Regions from separate parts of the Homo sapiens genome. Here regions 1, 3, 4, 5, 6 and 7 are each linked to region 2. Evidence: promoter capture Hi-C in 16 types of primary human blood cells and fetal thymus (Javierre and others, 2016). All regions are on one chromosome and are shown on one strand. Each heading gives the region's core, a stretch centred on a gene start or on the middle of the fragment in contact. The rest is flanking DNA. Distances are from core to core; before and after follow the strand shown.

Region 1 (2,700 bases), core at 98-2,597, 550 kb before region 2:
TCCTTTAGACTCTTCTCTATCCTCTTGAATTTGAGTCACCCCCTGAATCTCAGCACCTAGTACTGGTGCCATGGATGGGCTGGTGGTGTCTACATCATGGATATGAACATCACCTCCACCCATGAAGTGGGAAGGCCTAATTGGCAGGGATAGTCATTCTTACCTGTGCTGTGCCCTAGCCTTTTGCTGTTGACTGCCTCTTGGTCCCTCAAATCTAGTTTTCTTTATAGGGCTCCAAATCGAAGCTTGGAAAATACAATGGAGTAATACTAAGGTGAAGGTGTGGAACCAGATCCTCCTCAAACAAAGGAAAGAAAGGGAATCCTGGGAATTGGGGACCTGGCCTAATAAGATGCCTCCCAAAAGGAAAACATTAATCCCTTGCATGGAAAAGCTCCTTGTATTCGCAGGATTATGTTGACTCTGACAGGGTGGAAAAAAGCAATTTAAATGCAGAGGAGGGAAGGTGGCTGGGGGAAATAGCCTCTTGTTCTGTGGTAATGAGTTTCTTCAACAGGGGAAAGAAAACTCTCTTAATTGTTACATCCCTCTATTTCTAAGAATAGACAGAAGCAACATTGTTCTGGATTACACTCCTGATGACTAAGCCAAGTCCTCATTCTATCCAGTAATAGTATCTCTTTTCGTTGCAAAAACACCGGTAACATTGTCTATAAATAGGGGATAGCAGTCAGGACACTCTTGAAAGAAAGAAAATTAGATAGGAAGGACTGAAAGCCTTGGCCTGGCACCTGAATGGGCTGTGGGGGATTGGAGCTGGTCCAGGAGTCTTCAGGTAACACCAAAGTGTGCCTTGGCCAGATACCTTCAGTTGTTCAGGACTTTATTCCAACCTACGTAATGGCTAGACTTCCAGGAAAGGAAACTGGATTGGAACAAGGCCAACATTCCCAACACCCAAGGATGAAGGGGGACTGACAATGTCCTCCCGAGCAAGTCTGTCCTCTGAGTCTTGTAGATTGGCAGTTGGTCTATTCACCCTTAACTGTCTAACAGAGACTTGGTGTTTTATCTGTTTTCGAAAAAAAAGTGAGGATGAGAGTCCTCAGAAATGAAAGTAAAGGGTCACAGGTCTGCTCTTACTCACCCTTCTGAAGACCTGGACGAGCCTCCAGAAATGTTGCAGCTTCTTTACTCCCATAGTTCGGTGAGTGAGAGGGAGTGGCTCCCAGTGGCTTCTTCACTCCTGTAGTTTGGCGAGAGGGAGAGAGTGGCACCAATCAACTTCTTTACTCCCGTAGTTCAGCGAGTGGGAGGGAGCGTTACTGCTCTTTCACTCCTGCAGTTTGGTGAGTTCTGAGTTCTTGTCTAATGACCAAGAGGAGTGAGGTACATGGACATTGGAGAGTGAGTAAGGCAGAGTTGAATTTTATTGAGTGACAGAAAGAAAGCCCTCAGCAAGAGGGGACCCAAAAGTAGACTGCCATCAGTGAGGCTGAGTCCAGGGTTTTTATGGGCTTAGAATAGGGGAACGTGTGCTGATTGGTTTATGGGTGGGCTTGGAAAAGACACCATTCAATTGGTTAAAAGGCATCATTCAGAAAGAACCTATTGAGAGACAGTGGATAAGGTGGGGATGGAAGTTCTCACTCAGATCTGTGGCTTCTATCCTGAATTAGTAGCTCAGTTTTCAGGCTTTAGACTGTCTTTGGCTTGAAGGTTGAGTTTCACCAAGGACCCATCCTGTCTGCCTAGAAATTTGTCTATCTCCTGTGGCTATCACAGCCAAGGTTGTGGAGAAAAAGGAACATTAATACACTGTTGTTGGGAGTGTAAATTAGTTCAACCATTGTGGGAGACAGTGTGGTGATTCCTCAAACACCTAAAGACAGAAATACCATTTGACCGAGTAATCCCATTACTGGGTATATAACTACAGAAATATATATTGTTCTATTATAAAAAAATTCATGTGTATGTTAATTGCAGCACTATTCACAATAGCAAAGACATGGAATCAACTTAAATGCCCATCAATGATAGACTGGATAAAGAAAACATGATACAAATACACCATGGAATACTATTCAGCCACAAAAAAGAATGAGATCATGTCCTTTGCAGGGACATGGATGGAGTTGGATGCCTAACCTTAGTAAACTAATATGGGAACAAAAAATCAAATGCTGCCTGTTCTCACTCATAACTGGGAGCTAAATAATGAGAGTATAGGACATATAGCGTGGAACAACACACATTGAGGCCTACTAGAGGGTGGAGGGTGGGATGGAGGAGAGGATTTGGAAAAATACTAATGGACATTAGGCTTAATACCTGGGTGATGAGATAATCTTTACAATAAACTCCTGTGACATAGTTTACCTATGTAACAAACCTGCACATGTACCCCTGAACTTAAAATAAAAGTTAAAAATGTTTATTGGCTGTTTTTTATTTTTCACTTATAAAAGTGCTTATTTAAGCTTTTGCTAATTTTTTTTATTAGGTTGTCTGATGCTTTTTCGCATTGATTTGCAAGAATTCTTATACATTCTAGATAATAGTCTTTTCTCATTTCTATATTTTGCAAATATCTTTTCTCATTCTTTGTCTTGTATTTCAATCATTTTAAGTTTTTTTAATAAACAGAAGATCTTGATTTAATATATTCCAATTTATCAATCATTTCCTCTGTGGCTAGCTCTTTACGTATATTATTTAGAAAACCCTGCCTCAATC
Region 2 (2,700 bases), core at 98-2,597:
TAGGACTCCATTTCTCTTTCTACCTTAGGCAATCCAATTCTACTCCTCCTGCAGTGCATGAATATATATTAATAACTTTTTTCAAGAGAAAGATCAGTTGCAAATACTTATCAAATGTGTTGATACATGCAAATTAGGCTTTCCCTGCTGCCCTTTCAAAACACAGAGAGAATAAAATGACCTATCCTTAACCCAATGACTAAGTGTTTGTGTGAACTTGAATAAACCTTCACCTTTCCTGTGCCTCACTGTTCTTATCTACAGAGCAGAGAAGTTAAACCAGATGACTTCTAGTTAAAATAATGTATGATTTAATGATTCAGTTAATTAAGATTCTATTGGGAGGCCGAGGCGGGGGGATCACGAGGTCAGGAGATCGAGACTATCCTGGCTAACATGGTGAAACCCCATCTCTACTAAAAATACAAAAATTAGCCGGGCGTAGTGACGGGCGCCTGTAGTCCCAGCTACTCGGGAGGCTGAGGCAGGAGAATGGCGTGAACCCGGGAGGCGGAGCTTGCAGTGAGCCGAGATTGCGCCACTGCACTCCAGCCTGGGTGACAGAGCCAGACTCCATCCTCAAAAAAAAAAAAAAAAAAAAAAAAAAAAAAAAAGTTTCTACCTGTGCACATATTTAGCTTCAGATATGATCTGTGTGAGAAGACCATCTTGAAGGAAGTCAAGAAATCTAAGAATGAGTCCCGTTTTCAGCATCAAGTGGATATATAATCATTAGAACAGGGAATAACCTCACTTTCCCCGTTCATTAAATGGGGTAACACTCGTGGTCATCTCTCAGGGTTGTTTTGAAGACTGAACAAGATAAGTCATGTGAATGTGTTTTGTAAGTTGTATAGTTAGAGGAATTAGAAGTGTAATCATTGTTAAAGGAGATGTTTGAAACACTGCATATATCATCACTGCCAATGGAGATAACAGGCTGAGTCCGGGTTATTTCTCGTTAGGACGCGTCCTTGTGCTGAGTAAATGGTAGGTTACCTTATCAGACTGCGCAGTGAGTCTTGATCCGGGAAGCGCCTAACTCCTGAATTTTTACCAGAAAATAAAGGACTACACTAAAAAGAAACCAGAAAGAACGTGGGAAGGAGGGAATTCGCAGGCAGAGGAGGAGGAAAAGCAAAGACGAGGCAAAGTTAGGAGAATGAAAGGCGAATTCAGAGGAATGATAGGGGCGGGTAGGGCCGAGCCGGCCTGGCAGGACAGGGTGGTGGCGAATGAGCTGCTAGCCCGGCGACCTGCCCGCGGCCCCGGCGGGGGAGGAGGAGGGGCTTGGCAAAGGGCAACGCCAGAGCCAGACTTAAAAGGGAGATGATCCTAGCTAGTTGACGCCACCGGTGACCTCCGACGCCCCGGGCAAGAGAACGCCAGGAGGGATAACGGGAGGAAGGCCGGCCGGGGCCGCCAAGGCAGTCCCAGGCTCGCGTAGGAGGCGCGCAGACCTTGCACCTTGCACCTTCGCAGCGCCCTGCACCCCGCCACCATGTGCGAGCTGTACAGTAAGCGGGACACTCTGGGGCTGAGGAAGAAGCACATCGGGTAAGGGCACCCTGGCCCGGAAGTAAGTGCAGAGAGGGGGCAATAACGAGTGCAGAAGGTGGAGAGAGAAAGCCGGCTAGGGAACAAACGATGCGCTGCAGCCGCACTCCGTGCCCGCCGCGCCTGTGCACGCGCCCCGCGCGCCTCCACCTGCAGGGGCCGCGCGGACTCCCAGAAACGCTCCTGGAACCCGGAACGCTGGGCTTCCTGCCCGCTCGAAAGTCCCCGGCTCGCTCTGCAGCCGGCGGACTAGCGGGGGCTGCCGGCCGGCTAGAGGGGTTGGTGGATGACGGCCAATAGCCCTAGCAGACACCATTCCAGGGATGGGAGATGGGTGGAAGAAGGATAGCGCTCCGCCACCCCCACACAACTCGAAAGTTTTTGGAAACTGTGAACTGAGAAATATTTTTTCATGATGGCTCCGCAAACAAACCAATTCTGACAATTTTTACTTAAAGTGAGCTTTTTCTTCTTGCATGCTTGGTTAAGTGATGAAGGGTTTATCTAGCCAATAGAAAAACTTGAAACCACCTTCTGTTAGAAAAGCAGAGACTTTATTTAGATCCCTCTTACCCAACTTGCTCTCCCAAGCTGTGTTCTTCCCAGCCTGCTTGTCTTGCCCCCGTCACAAACGACTTAGTAATATAAAGGTGAGTATATAAGACCGACAGGGGCTCTAGCTCTCGTTGGATGTCATATTCCCTGTGTGGACCTCTGTCAAATTAATTGTCTCTTCTATGAAAGTAGGAATAACATTCTACTTCACAGGAGCAAGAAGATGAGATTAATATGTTAGTGTTTTGTGCGTGGTTTTTAAAAAGATACGTGTAAATATAAATGATGATTAATGACCCCGAATACTGTAAAGTCAACCGTCTGCAATATTCACTTGAAATGAACGACTGCAGCCGGGCCAGTGGGCATGAGAGAGCACTTGGGGTTACAAGGAAGAAAACAATCCGCATCCTCTTCGGAGGAATGCTGGACAGTTTCTCAGACTGAAGCTCCTCACCCCAACTGGAGGGGTTTCTGGGTGGTTTGGAAGACTAGTTCCATCTCTCTCAGCCGCTAAGTGGGATCAAAATAATCCAGTTCTTTCCCCATTAATCAATCACTACCCTACTTTTTCTAATCACTCACTGC
Region 3 (2,700 bases), core at 171-2,670, 570 kb before region 2:
AAGAAATAGGGCTGTTGTTAATAATGATCACAAATTACCAACGTCTGTCCAGAAACTTGTTCCTCCTTAGAATTTCACCAGTTAGCTGAAGCTGCAGGAGCCTTCTCAATGCTAGGAATCTGGTGTGAAGCTAGAGCCAGGATCCCCAGTCTCCTGCAGATGAGTTTCTATTCCTCCTGCATCTCTGAGCTAGACTACAAATTTTCCTCTAGTTCAGAATGATTAGATGATTAAATATGCCCTAAGGGCTCATGGAAGAATAGTAGAATCTGATACTCAAATTTCAACTTATAGGTAATAGGACACAATCCCTAAACCCTATTCTGAAACAGAACTCTTAGGGGTGGCTTCTCCTCTAAAGCCTCTGGCAGTAAAACTGCTGGGAAGGAACTTTCATGGACTCGCTCTCCCACAGACTATGCTGCAGGGATAGGATCAACACACAGAGGTCATAAACTTAAGTGCCTACAGGAAGGATATTTCAATGACTGACGGTGGTGGTGAGTCCTTGTGGTCTAGATTTTCTATATAGAAAAATGGGGTTAACAATGTGTGTGGAGGGGTGGGGGGTGGTGAGGCATGAAATTGAAGGCATGAAATTGAAGGCCTAAAATTAGCTCTCTGAAGAAGGGCTGGAAGCTGCATTTATGTAGCACTTTTCATTAGGTGGAGAAGGTGAACTGTGCGGGGTGTGAAGGCTGATGGTGGGGGACTGATGGGAAATGTGGTGACTGGAAGAAATGAGGCCCTCTCCAAGGAGGCAGCTTCCACTCGGCTCCAGCTGACACTTGCCAGTTGGCAATGAGGACAGTTGCCAGATATTCTGAGTTTTCAGAAGATGGAAATCCAGATTTTTTTTTTAAATGGGAAATCTCTTATTTTTAAAACACGATGTGGGCCAAACCAAACACGTTTGTGGGCTGAATTCAGTCTGTGGCCTACCATTTTGAGACCTTTGATTTATAGTCCTCACAAAACATGACATTTCTGTTCCAATTTGTAATCTCCAGGCGTGTTACTTCCAGAGTCAGTTCATTCTCTGCACTTCGCCCTCCTCCTTCACTCCTTTATTATTTATACGTATGTCTGACTCCCCCTCAAGATTATACATTCTTTTAACGACACAACTTACATTGTTTTCATTTTTGTATCTTCTCTGTGGTTTACTATAGTGCCTTAAAGAGGGTAATAGTCAGTAAGTGCTGGTTAAAGAAGTGTTTGTTAAATAATGCATTTTCAAAGCTAATCTAAGGAAACTTGAAGCTCTACTTGGGGTCCATTCACTGAAACACAGTTTGCCAAAAACCAACTATCTGAAAGCCAATTGGGGATTTCCACTTCCAGTAATAGTCAACTATAATTCAGTCCAACCCTCATACAAAATATATCCAGAAAAAATATAGAAAACATCTTGTTAGTAATATGAAATGCCTAAGAAAACTGGGAAGAATTGCCTTGAGAGAATAGAGTGATTGTAAGAGCAGAAATTGGTGAACTGGTAAATGTTTTATCCTGGGGGTATTTGCCATCCTTAGGAGGTGAAGAAAACAAGGAGATTAATAAATGGGGTAGGGCTGGAGAACAAGACAGAGACCCTGGAGACCTACCCACCTTTCTTCCCATGTCCTTGGCGCTCTCCTTCCCCAGCTTTGTATCTTTGACCTATTTGGGGAAACTGAGCAGTGCTTTGGGCTTTAGAATGGCAGGAATAGAAGCTCAGAAACATCTAAGCTCAGAAACTGCTGTGACATACCCTTTCCCTGGGACAGGCTGGTGGCCTAGGTTTCCTTATTCAGCTTCCTTTCCTTGTAACTCACTCTGATAAGGCTAGTCCTAAGTGAAATGACTCCTGAATCTATGGTTAATGCAGCTGTTCAAAGCTATGCAAAGTGTGCTGAGCATTATCTGAGGCAGTACCACCCTTATTCTCCAGGCCTGTCCTTTCCAGAGCCCCTGTTTAGACCCTCCTCCAGCGATTCTCCTCCTCACAGAGTGAAGACTCCACTGGGCCAAGGGCATATGCCCACCCAGTTCCAGTGCTGTACTCTCTTCCCAACCCCAGCCATGCTCAACATACTGGACAGTGGAATTCCCTGTCAAATAGTGCCAAGCCCCATTTCATAGGCCTCCACCTTCTTCAGGCTCATCCTCCAAAGGGTATAACTTACCACTGGGGTGTGCATCCTTTGGCCCCAGAGGGCGCTACAGGGCAGGCTGTGTGTGTTTGTGTGAAATGGGGGTAGAGAGGTGTGGACAAAGTTTGCCTATGAGGTTGAGTACCCACAAGACCCCACATGATGTTTGATTATAGGACCCAAAACAGGTTACTGAAAAGAAGCAAACTATCAGTCATCCTGGGAGCTTTATGAAGCTGGGGCTGTGTAAGGTTCTCTGTGTGGGATTTGTTACTATGATATACCAGAGTAGCCAAGTCATGATGACAAAACTGTACCTAACACCAGTCCTATTGTAAGGTTTGGATTACCAAATCAAAGAAAGTTCTTTTTCAGGTGCCAGATGTGTAATAGATGCTATAATAGGTGGCCTGGAAGACTTAATTAATGAGGCAGTTCAAATATATAGCCTGTCTGGATCTCTGCCTATAGCCCATTGTACCCACTGCCAGGCCCCTCCTGATGCCATGCTCCATCCACTAGCAGAGATTTCCATGCAGTACTTATTTCTAGGAATTTACTTAAT
Region 4 (2,700 bases), core at 60-2,559, 760 kb after region 2:
TGTTCAGTGTCTGGTGAGGGCTGTTCTCTGCTTCCAAGATGGTGCCTTGCTGCTGCATGCTCTGGAGCAAAGGTCCCCAACCTTTTTTGGCACCAGGAAGACATGGGAGACAATTTCACGGAAGACAATTTTTCTACCGTCTTGCAGGGAAGAGGGGATGGTTTAGGGATGATTCAAGTGCATTACATTGATTGTGCACTTTATTTCTATTATTATTACATTGTAATATATAATGAAATAATTATACATCTCACCACAATACAGAATTAGTGGGAGCTCTGAGCTTGTTCTGCTGCATCTAGATGGTGCCATGTGGGGATAATGGGAGACAGTGACAGATCATCAGGCATTAGATTCTCACAAGGACACGAAACCTAGATCCCTCACATGCACAGTTCACAATAGGATTCATGCTCCTATGAGAATCTAATGCAACTCTTGATCCAACAGGAGGCAGAGCTCAGGTAGCAATGCAAGTGATGGGGAGCAGCTGTAAATACAAATGAAGTCTTGCTAGCTGCTCACATCCTTCTATGTGGCCCGGTTCCTAATGGGCCACGGACCAGAAGTTGGGGACCCCTGCTCTGGAGGGGACGAGCACTGTGTCCTCATATGGCAGAAGGGAGAAGAGGCAAAGTTGGTCTCTCAAGCCCCTTTAAATGGCACTAAGCTGTTCATGAATACAGAACCCTCATGACCTAATCACCTCCTAAAGGCCTTATCTCTTAATACTGCTGCACTGGGGATTCAGCTTCGACATAAATTTTGGAGGGAACACAAACATTCCTATCAGAGTAGCTTCTTCCACCACCACTGCTGCATGAAATTAGATACAGTTGGTCCCCCCTTTATCTGTGGTTTTACTTTCTGTAGTTTCAGTTACCAACAGTCAACTATGGTCCAAAAATATTAAATGGGAAATTATAGAAATAAATGATGCATGTTTTAAATTGCATGTCATTCTGAGTAGTGTGATGCAATCTTGAATTGTCCTGTCTGGGAGGAGACTCATCCCTTGGTCCAGCATATCCACACTGTATACTACCCAATCCATTAGTCACTTGGTAGTTGACTGGGTTATCAGATCAAAAAGACATAGTATGTATAGGATTTGGTACTATCTGCAGTTTCACGCATCCACTGAGGGTCTAGGAATGTACTCCCTCCCCTCGTAAGGGGGGACTACTGTAACTTATCAATGGTCTACTAAATTGCTAAAGTCAATGCCTGTTCTTTGGCTTCATCTTCTACAACAGCTCTGTACATTGCCAATAAAAGTTTCATTTTTGAAACTCTTCAGTTTCTTATCTGTCTGTTCCTTTTAGCCATATTAATTGACCTCTCTTGATCTTCTAAGCCTATAAACAAGGACTTCCTTCAAGGTTCTGTTTCCAATATAATTTCCTTCTGAAATTCCAATCGTTCTCATACTTCCAACTGTGCCTGAAACCAAAATAATCTATCTAAGCTGCAGTTATCACCTTGACCCTAAAATCAATTCTCCTTGGCCTTCATTACTGGTACCACTATTCTGTAGGTCACCATTTTCTGGACAACACTTTTTCCTTAATCCCAACCATTAACTGCTGTCCAGAAATGTTCTATCCATTATTCAGGCCCATTTCAAATGCTACCCTCTCCATGAAGCCTTTTTCCAAATGAATGTACTTTCTATTTTGAAACCTCAGAACTAGATTTTTACTGCTCTTATTGTACTACTTTACACCAAAGTAAACTGTGTCATTTAGATCTCTGTCTAATCTCTGCTCTTAGATTTAAAATCCCTTAATGGCAGAAATTGATTTGGTCTTTGTAGCCCTTAGTACTTATCACATGCCTTGAATATGATAGCTGGTCAATAACTGCTAAATAACAAATGCTTTGGACGGTAGTAACCCGATTCTGTAGTCTTCCCCAGCCACACCACACGTCTCCCTCCTCTGTGCTATCTCATGGCTCTGTGCCCTTGTTCATGTGGTTTCCTCTGCCATACATGTCCGGCTCCCTCATTGCTGCTTCATGGACTTCAACTTACCCTTCATAATCTAACATGGACACCATCTCTCCTTTAGTGAAACTTCTCCCAACCCTTAGTAGAGGTAATCACTTCTTTTGTGCCTCTAGTGATTTGCAGATACAGCAGATCTTTTGTGCAGGAATTCAAATACTGAAAGAAAATAACTGGGTGTGGCGCTGGTGTGAACCACCAATGGCTGCTCAGTTATGTAATGGCAGCCCAGTCCCCAGGATGTGAACAGAACAGAGAAATAAAAACTTAACTGGTTATAGACTATTTCATGTCATAAGAATCTCACCGATTTCAGAATAAAAGTTATTAACCAACCAGAGCATAGGAGAAATCCCAGATGTGAAAGATGAATGATACACTTGAAATAGAAAAGCTAACCATACCAACCTTTTCTTCTTTAAAAAACTGATATGTAATAGCTGTACATACTTTTGGGGTACATGTGACATTTTGATACCTGCCTAAAATGTGTAATGATCAAATCAGGGTAACTGGGATATCCAACACCCTAAACACTTATCTTCTCTTTGCCAACACCAACTTTAGATGATGAAATCAAGATAGTACGGAGAGACCTTTCAAAAGTGCTGTTGCATCATCCACTTCAGGTTGTCAAGCTGCTGTTACCACAAATCCCAATATAGGGTGCTTAGGAACACTCCTATCTACAG
Region 5 (2,700 bases), core at 169-2,668, 740 kb after region 2:
ATTGGGAGTAAAGCACAAAGCCTAAGCACAAATGCTCAATAAATGCTGACTTCCATTATTTAATTATTAGAAGTCTGGAAGTATATGATGGTTGCCCTTAAAGTCTTCTACGTGGGACCTGATCTTCTATTATAGAGGAGGAGGAGCCCCAGGAAAGTGAGTAATTTGCCCAAGTGACAGTTCTCCTGGATTCCTGAGTATTTCTCCCATGACTCCACCCTCTGCCACACAGATGCTCTAGAGGCCAGCGGCCCCTTGGCTTCAGAACAGACTCATCCTTCTGGGGAAGGCTTTCATTTACAGCAAGCGGGGCCTGCCACCTGCTCCAGCAGCCCTCCTGACCTCTGTGAGGTACAGGCAAGGGCACAAGGGCTGCCCTACTGGCATCTGTAGGGGATGGCACCAAGCACGATGCCCGGCACAGTCAGCCCTCAGTAAGCAGTTAGAGAACTCATGTGTAATGGTAAATGGAAAGAACCAGATGAAGTATATATATATATATTTTTAAACAGGAGAGATGCGTGTTTATTCACTCATTCATTCAACTATACACACACACACACACACACACATACACACACACATACACACACACACACACACACATATATATATGTAAAATGTAAAGGCCAGTAAAGAACTTCAATCGGAGTCAAAGGGTTTACTTTAGACCCTTCATGGGATCTTAGGCAACTGCCTCACCTCTCTTCTCTGGAATGGGGATCATGGGCATGTCTTCCCTGTGCAAGAGGGCCGTCTGACTCGGTGAACTAATGAGCTAGTGTCTGTGCAGGGATGAAAGGTGCTATATAAACAAAGAAGAGTTCTCACTCCTGTTTTCGTGTGATCACAGCCTGGGCCATGGTGTCATGTCGTGACATCAAGAGAAGTGAATGGATGGAAACAGGAAAAGACACAGTGAAGATGGAGAAGAGGAGCAGGACGAGAAAGACCAGAAGCCACCCTGCGGGTACCACAAATCAAACAGAATCCCAGAGCTGTTTGAAAGGAGGTCTAAAAAGTCTCCATCAAAACCACAGACTGAGCTGGGGGACAAACACTGCTGACTATGGAGTTTTCAAATTAAGTTTTTGGTTTAAGGGAGTTAATAATAGTGAAGGTTTGTTTCTTTTTAAACAGGAGAGATGGATGTTTATTCACTCATTCATTCATTCAACGAACAGTAATTTGTACAGATACGCTGCTCCTAGTTCCAACAGAGTCTGAAAAAAAATACATATATATATACATTTAAATGAGCCCAGTCCTAAGTAAAGGAGCCACTTAGCTTATTATACAAGTTATTTTGGTGTACACCACCAGCAACACAAGGAAGAGCTAAAGTTAAACAATAAAAACTGAATAGAGAAGAACACTTTTACAAAATACTTTCTAAAAAATAGTAGCATTTGCTAAACATCAGCTGTTAACAACCAACACACTACATTTCCAAAGACAAAAGCATACATTACCAGATAAATGCAGTTGAAAACATTATTAAAGTAAATCTACAGAATGTGCCTATCTCCAAAACACTTATATATACAATATAATAACTAAAGAAATCAACTAGTCCCTAAGTACTGAAATGTTGGAAATGCATGCCACTTCTTTGCTCTTAATCTGCATGAGATAAGAGCTGTTAAATGCTGTTTCTTCTGTTCCCCAAATCCCTCCCCTTCATTCTTCAATTTCTTCAAAAAATCAGCCTTAGGGGATAGGAGAAAATAGGAGGAAGCTGAGAAGCAATGTTAGTAAGACAGAAAAAGTCCCATTGCAAGATGGTCAAAGTTGTCACTTGAGAGAAAATGCTAAAAAAAATGGTCATTATTATGACTTATTAAAAATGCTTATGCTGAGTAGTGGTGAGGGAATGAGGAGGATAAAGGAAGGAAAAGGTAGTTGGAAAAGGCAATAATGAAGAAAACAGACGATACACACTCCCAGAGAGGCCACAGCCAGTGTGTGTAGGTTTGCCTGGCCCCACATCACCCACATGGCAGCATCAGCGTCCCCCACACTTCGCAGGGCAATAACTCCTCAACCTCAGAACAAATGCTACTTTAATAGCGGCTGCTCCTCAGACCCTGTAATTAGGACCCTGTAAAAGGCAAGTTGTCCCATTTCAGGTGCAAATTGCCTACTGTGACTCCAACTCCAACATATTGGAGTCTCCAAGCATTCCAAACAGGATGCTGGGGAAGCCCTCCCTGCCTCCCCGCTCCACCTTCCAGGTTTATGGTCAGGAGGCTCAAGGCTATCAGAAGCTGGTTTTATTTTTTTACTTTTAGGGTTTTTTTATTCGATATAGGATCTTGCTCTGTCATCCAGGCTGGAGTGCAGTGGTGCAATCACAGCTCACTGCAGCCTCAACCTCCCAGGCTCAATCAATCCTCCCACTTCAGCCTTCCAAGTACTGGAGACTACATGCGTGCACCAAAACCCCTGGCTGATTTTTTATTTTTTGTAGAAATGGGGTCTTGCCATGTTGCCTAGGCTGTTCTTGAACCCCTGGGTCTCAAGCAATCCACTAACTTCCACCTCCAAAAGTTCTAGGATTACAGGCATGAGCCGCCGCACCCAATGGGAGCTGGTTTTAATAGCTCTGATCACAATGCACAGGAGATGTACCTCATCTGGGGACAACGCTAAGGCACCATTACATGGGGTCAGAATTAACCCCAGGAACTGTGGACAAGC
Region 6 (2,700 bases), core at 46-2,545, 620 kb before region 2:
GGGGAGAAGCTTGGGTGGAGTGCAAGTAAGCAGAAAATTGTATTACCTTATGGCAATTGCTATAGTGATTTTTATTTTCTACTGTGATTTTGTAGTGGGGTTCAGAAGGTTGGCAGCTGGCTTTTGGATTAACACCTCTAGTAAAGTAAAGGAAAATCTATAGGTACTTAAAAATCAAATCAAAATTATTGACAGGCTCAGGGAAAATGCCGGCTTCAGCCCTGAGTGGCCACAGTCCCTCTAATAAATTCCAGTCTTCTTTATGGAATTGGTTAACCCCTTTATTAAGACCTCTCTTGCTTATTTGTCTTCTTGTATTGATATTTGGACCCTGTATACACAATACTATACCTCAAATTGTTTCTTCTCGCCTAGAAGCAAACTCCAAATGGTTCTGTAAACTAACTACACATGGACATGCCATTCTTCGGAGGACCCTTAGATCCACCCTAGGAGGAGCCCTAGCTGCTGTTCCCCATTTGATGCCCCTTTTCAGCAGGAAGTAGCCAGAAGGAGTCGTTGCCCAAAACCCCCTAACAGCAGTTAGTGTGGCATCTCCACATGGGGGAATGTTGTAGGAGTTATTAAGAAATTATTTTAGGCAGATAGACAGGAAAAGGGGTCCTTGGGAAGTTTTCTTTTTTGTTTTTTCTTTTTTGTTTTGAGATGGAGTTTCCCTCTTGTTGCCCAGGCTGGTGTGCAATGGCACGATCTTGGCTCACCACAACCCCTGCCTCCCAGGTTCAAGCGATTCTCTTGCCTCAGAGTTAAGAGAATCTCTTGCCTCAGCCTCCCGAGTAGCTGCCTGGGATTACAGGCATGCACCACACCTGGCTAATTTTGTATTTTTAGTAAAGACGGGGGTTTCTCCATGTTGGTCAGGCTGGTCTTGAACTCCCGACCTCAGGTGATCCGCCTGCCTCAGCCTCCCAAAGTGCTGGGATTACAGGCGTGAGCCACCGTGCCCAGCCCTAAGTTTTCCTTTTTTTAAAGCATCTCCGCAAAAGTTTCTTGTAAAGCCCTGGCTCTAGAGCCAGGCTGGCAACCTTTGATATGCAAACGCCAGCCATTAGAAACTGGGTCCACCCAAACATGGCGATTCCAGTGGCCTTCTTGCCCTTTCCCCACATGTTTTTGGCAACATGGCCGCCCCCACGTATCCCCACGTGTGTAGAACGTCACGGTGCCCTGCATTTGTATATTAAAAGGCTAGGGCAGGAGGGCCAGCTTTTTCGCGGGCTATGTGAATGACATGCCTAGTCAAACCAATCCCATGGACCCTATGCAAATCAGACACCGCCTCCTGCAGCCTCTGTATGTACACCTAGCTGGTATCTGTGGCAGGTGGGGTTCCCTCTCTCGGCTTTGGAGCCCCCCTCCCTCTGTCTCTGTACAGGGGAGCTTCTTCCTTCTCCCTTCCTTCTTGCCCCTTCTTGCCTGTTAAATTCGCCTCTCGTTAAATTAAAAAAAAAAAAAAAAAAAAAAGAGGTTGGCAGCTGTGCTGCCACTAACATTTCTGGGGGCTGGGGAGGGGGGATTTTGAGAGATGGTTCTGTTGCTGTGTATAAGTGTTGTGGGTCAGAGACTTAAGGAACAAAAAGAGTTATGCTGTCTCCTGGAATTCTAAAATTCTGGGGCAGTGAATTCTCAGGCATGACCATAAGGTGGAAGAGAGTCTGTAATAATCATTGTCAGTGCCTGGCCTATTTCCTTTCTGGCTTGTCATTGTAATTCACTACTATTGCTGGCTTCTGACAACCTGATCAAGGTATCCTCTGGCAACATGGGCAGGCTGGGTAAGCCAGGAATCTAATGACCCCTTCCCAGACCCCCAGCCCCACCAGTAACTGATGGGAGGAGGTGTATGTGTCCCAGTTCTTTCACTTCTCTGGTGGGATAACTCTGAGACTTGACACGCAGAGTTTCAGAGAGCAATTAAGTTCCAGTTGCCCAGAGTGGGTGACACAGCCAGAGTGAAAACACATCTTAATTAGCTGACTTTTCTTCCTCGTGTCTCATTTCTTTCTTTCTTCATTGGGATGACATCCAAATCAACTGCAGCACTCAAAACTTTGTTTCAGAATCTGCTCTAAGGGGAACCTGTCTTTGCAAAAAATTGTTCACTGACATCCTGGCTGAAAACTAACTCAGCTGGTGGAAGTTTTTGGATGATCCTAGACAGCTGGTAAGGGTGGTCTTTATCAACCCCTCTTCTCAACTAATCCAATTTTTTTTCTCTCCTGAGCCTAAATAAGATAAAGAATGTCCAAAGGTGAATGGCTGTGGATAAATATTCATGTTCTCAGCCTTACCCATAGACTCCTGCTGACCTAGGCTGATTTTCAGGTTTGTTATGTGTAATTGGGTAAATTCCATAATGTGTAAGTTTGCCCTCTTGGCTATAAATATAAATAGGTCTGGAGTGGGCCAGTCTATGAGTTGACTTACATGAGGCATTCATTCATTCATTCATTCAAAAAATACTTATTATGTGCCAAGCCCTATACCAGGCATTGTGAATGTAGCATTAAACAAGGTAGATTTAAACTCATCCTTTATTAGGCTTTGAATGCAAAGCTTATAGAGATGGCAAAAATGAAATTGTTACAGGATTCTTGGGTGTCACTTCACCAGCTAGAAACCTCTGTGGCCAGCTGTGCCTTTGCCTGAGATTTGCTCAGGCCCACTGGGACCACTCAG
Region 7 (2,700 bases), core at 50-2,549, 610 kb before region 2:
TATTAATGACATATTGACATGCATATTATATAGCAGCATTGTCTTTCCTACTATAGAAAAAAGTCTATACTTATGATATATAATTATATATTAGCTTTTTATTTATGAGAAATAGAAAATTTTTTGACATGATTTTGTATAAATTATAACTGTGAACATCCCTCTTTTATTATTCTTTCTCTCTTTTTTGGTTTACTGGAAAAATAAAATCCACATTCAGTGATTTGAATAAGCAAACAATTTCTAAGAATATCTGTCATGGCTGTTCATAGTACTGCACAGCTGTTATTTTATTTAAATACCACAATTTTTAAGAGACACCGTCATTGTGGGACATATGATGCATGCATGGTATATAGCTGTTCTAGAAAGAGTCAAGGCAAATCCCATTTTTATGGCTTTAGTTTTTAAATCCCAGGAAGACTTTATAGAAAGAGACTGACAAGAGGGACAGGTGGATATTGGCTCCAACTTGGTGACAAGTTTTCAACCTCAGCTGCATTCTTACGACAGGGGAGTGAAGAGCAGCTGGCAGCCTGGGAGCCTCTGTTCTACAGATGGAATTCTTGTGGCAGAGAGAAGAATGTTCTAGCTGGCTCCTCATGCTTAATGAACAAAGAGCACAACTTAAGAGATTGAAGCTACTGTTTGATCTAAACAGTGGAGTCCCACTCCCTCTTTCTTCCTCGTCACATCTTTCGTATTACAGTTCTAGTGATTTATGTTTAGAAAAGAATATAAAGTTTCCCAGATTACTATTAGTCACTGATGTCTCGAATTCAATATATTCTTTTAAAGCCCATTTTTTACAATTGTGAGATTTGGGGCAAGAATATAAATAGAGGCCCGCAGATCATATATCTAAATATTTCCAAGTTATAAATCAAGTGATCAAATTGTTCAGTAAGAGATGTTCTTTCTCTTAACCTGGTGTTTCCTACCAGAGCATGGAGGCATGGGGAGAGCCAGGCCCTGTCTCCTCCATGGCTGGCTGCATCTTACATGGCGAGGGGCTTCCTGTGTATGTGTGGACACCCCAATTCACATACCCAGGCACCAACCACACTTCCTCGCTGACAGCTGCCACTTGATCACCTTTAGGTCTAGAAACTCTGGAAGCAGGTTGAGGACTATTTGGGCAAGGAATTCTGGGGTCCTAGAATTCAGAAATGGTCCCGAAGGGTGGGGGGTGTAGCCTCTGAGTGGGCACAGGAGACTGCAACATGGGGAAGAGTGGGGCCCTCTACAGCATGGGGCTTAGGACAAGGGTCGGTTCACCTGGGTCTAAGAGTGATACTTTTCTTTTTAAACCTCAATGTATACAATATTGTTCCCTCCATAGCCAGGTAGGAAGGAGAACTTTGTGGTCAACTTCTAAGTTCTCCATTTAATTAAAAATTATTAAAGCCAGTATTATTTACCTGGTGTTTATGGTCCATCTGCTCTCAAACTAGAATGGTTTCAGTAAGCACCAGGTACACCCTTACGGCATACTTTACCATATAAAGTATGCAACCTGGGGGTTTGACATGACCACTCTTCCCCTGAATTTCTATAGCATTTGGAAGGGTAACTGCAACTGTGGAATGACCTCCTTCTAGTTATATTTGAAAGAACTTTGGTCTGAAAGGTAAATGGCAACCATTATTCTAATCCTATAAATAAGGTAACTTGGCAAATCTTTTCGCTTTATGGTTATTTCAAATACACAATAAACTAGGAAAGGAGCCAGCAGCAGATGAAAGAGTTCTACCTGTGCTTATAAATCAGTGAAATATGAATTGAGGTAGAAAATGAAAGATCTGAATAATATTGCCTTTTGGTCCATCTCAGAGAGATTCAAATGAAAGTGCACAGGAAGGAATACCTATTTGCATTATTCACAGTATCCCCTGTAAATTAGTGGCATGATGTAGGTGGAACCCGTATAGTATAAGTAGGAACGCTAATGTTACATAGGTTTTTACTTTAAGGTCCAGGGGGACTCAGCCAAGTGGAAAAATAGCAGAGTTATGGTGGAAACCAGTCACCTTGTTAAAACTGAATAACCAGGTGTTTGGGAAAAGAATGGTATGAGAGACTGGTTTCTTCCCTGCTGAACACAGTCATTCAGTGTGAACACAGAGAGAAGGAATCTTTGTTACAAGCATAGAGGAAGATAAAAATGTGTGTATTTCAATGTTTGAAAACTAACCTGTGTCACAAGTCCATTTTGGGTTTCATAATATAATCAAGGAGAGCTACGTTTTGAGCTATAATTATGCTATATTTCCTGGAATAACCTTATTTGGGGTGTTTCAACACATGGTCTATAGCAATTCAAACTGGAATGCATTTGTGCATAGGTGCAGGATATATTCATTTTTTCTATGTGATTTTCATTTTAAAGAAAAGTGAATTTTAGAAACTAAGGTACATGGATCACTCTCATTTCAAAATAAAAAGCCTTGGTGAGTATGTTATGATAGTGGATGAGAAAAGTTCGGAGTAATATTCTTGGCTTTAAAAAACCAGTGTTACCAAAAACATTCACAAAATTTGACCTGAAAATATAAAGAATTATATTCATAATGAATTATATTCATAAATACAAAATAAATACTCTTCAGTGGTTTCCTATTGCTTTTAAGATAAAACCCTGCATGATCTGGCCCCTCTCTGCCTATCCAGCCTCATTCACCAAATGAGGGAAACTTCTCT

What was found. The method cuts DNA at HindIII sites, captures the fragments that hold promoters and counts their contacts. A CHiCAGO score of 5 or more calls a contact.
Region 1: a contact is called between a fragment that was not itself captured here and the fragment with the promoter of ETNPPL in region 2, in 1 of 17 cell types (M2 macrophages). The highest score is 5.2, in M2 macrophages.
Region 3: a contact is called between a fragment that was not itself captured here and the fragment with the promoter of ETNPPL in region 2, in 3 of 17 cell types (M1 macrophages, megakaryocytes and M2 macrophages). The highest score is 6.4, in M1 macrophages.
Region 4: a fragment that was not itself captured here is called in contact with the fragment with the promoter of ETNPPL in region 2 in 1 of 17 cell types (fetal thymus); the score reaches 7.1 in fetal thymus.
Region 5: a fragment that was not itself captured here is called in contact with the fragment with the promoter of ETNPPL in region 2 in 1 of 17 cell types (fetal thymus); the score reaches 6.6 in fetal thymus.
Region 6: a contact is called between a fragment that was not itself captured here and the fragment with the promoter of ETNPPL in region 2, in 2 of 17 cell types (M1 macrophages and erythroblasts). The highest score is 5.7, in M1 macrophages.
Region 7: a contact is called between a fragment that was not itself captured here and the fragment with the promoter of ETNPPL in region 2, in 1 of 17 cell types (M1 macrophages). The highest score is 5.2, in M1 macrophages.

Annotation. Positions count from the first base shown.
Region 1 is chr4:109,311,850-109,314,549 of GRCh38, reverse strand. COL25A1-DT (COL25A1 divergent transcript) reads right to left here. Exons shown (of 3, transcript NR_160939.1): 2 at 1,109-1,207. Among named protein-coding and RNA genes, the nearest start is that of COL25A1-DT, 10 kb to the right of the region's middle. The HindIII fragment of the contact is 2,199 bases long and covers 248-2,446 here.
Region 2 is chr4:108,761,700-108,764,399 of GRCh38, reverse strand. It overlaps ETNPPL (ethanolamine-phosphate phospho-lyase), which reads left to right and starts at 1,347. Exons shown (of 13, transcript NM_031279.4): 1 at 1,347-1,557. The coding sequence starts at 1,502. The HindIII fragment of the contact is 7,360 bases long and covers 1-2,700 here.
Region 3 is chr4:109,332,632-109,335,331 of GRCh38, reverse strand. No RefSeq gene overlaps it. Among named protein-coding and RNA genes, the nearest start is that of COL25A1-DT, 31 kb to the right of the region's middle. The HindIII fragment of the contact is 2,868 bases long and covers 1-2,700 here.
Region 4 is chr4:108,000,045-108,002,744 of GRCh38, reverse strand. The region is part of intron 1 of HADH (hydroxyacyl-CoA dehydrogenase); the gene reads right to left. Among named protein-coding and RNA genes, the nearest start is that of HADH, 12 kb to the right of the region's middle. The HindIII fragment of the contact is 2,945 bases long and covers 1-2,700 here.
Region 5 is chr4:108,020,074-108,022,773 of GRCh38, reverse strand. All of the region lies in intron 4 of HADH (hydroxyacyl-CoA dehydrogenase), which reads right to left. Among named protein-coding and RNA genes, the nearest start is that of HADH, 32 kb to the right of the region's middle. The HindIII fragment of the contact is 4,645 bases long and covers 1-2,700 here.
Region 6 is chr4:109,385,514-109,388,213 of GRCh38, reverse strand. No RefSeq gene overlaps it. Among named protein-coding and RNA genes, the nearest start is that of SEC24B, 47 kb to the left of the region's middle. The HindIII fragment of the contact is 2,568 bases long and covers 12-2,579 here.
Region 7 is chr4:109,366,704-109,369,403 of GRCh38, reverse strand. No RefSeq gene overlaps it. Among named protein-coding and RNA genes, the nearest start is that of COL25A1-DT, 65 kb to the right of the region's middle. The HindIII fragment of the contact is 8,120 bases long and covers 1-2,700 here.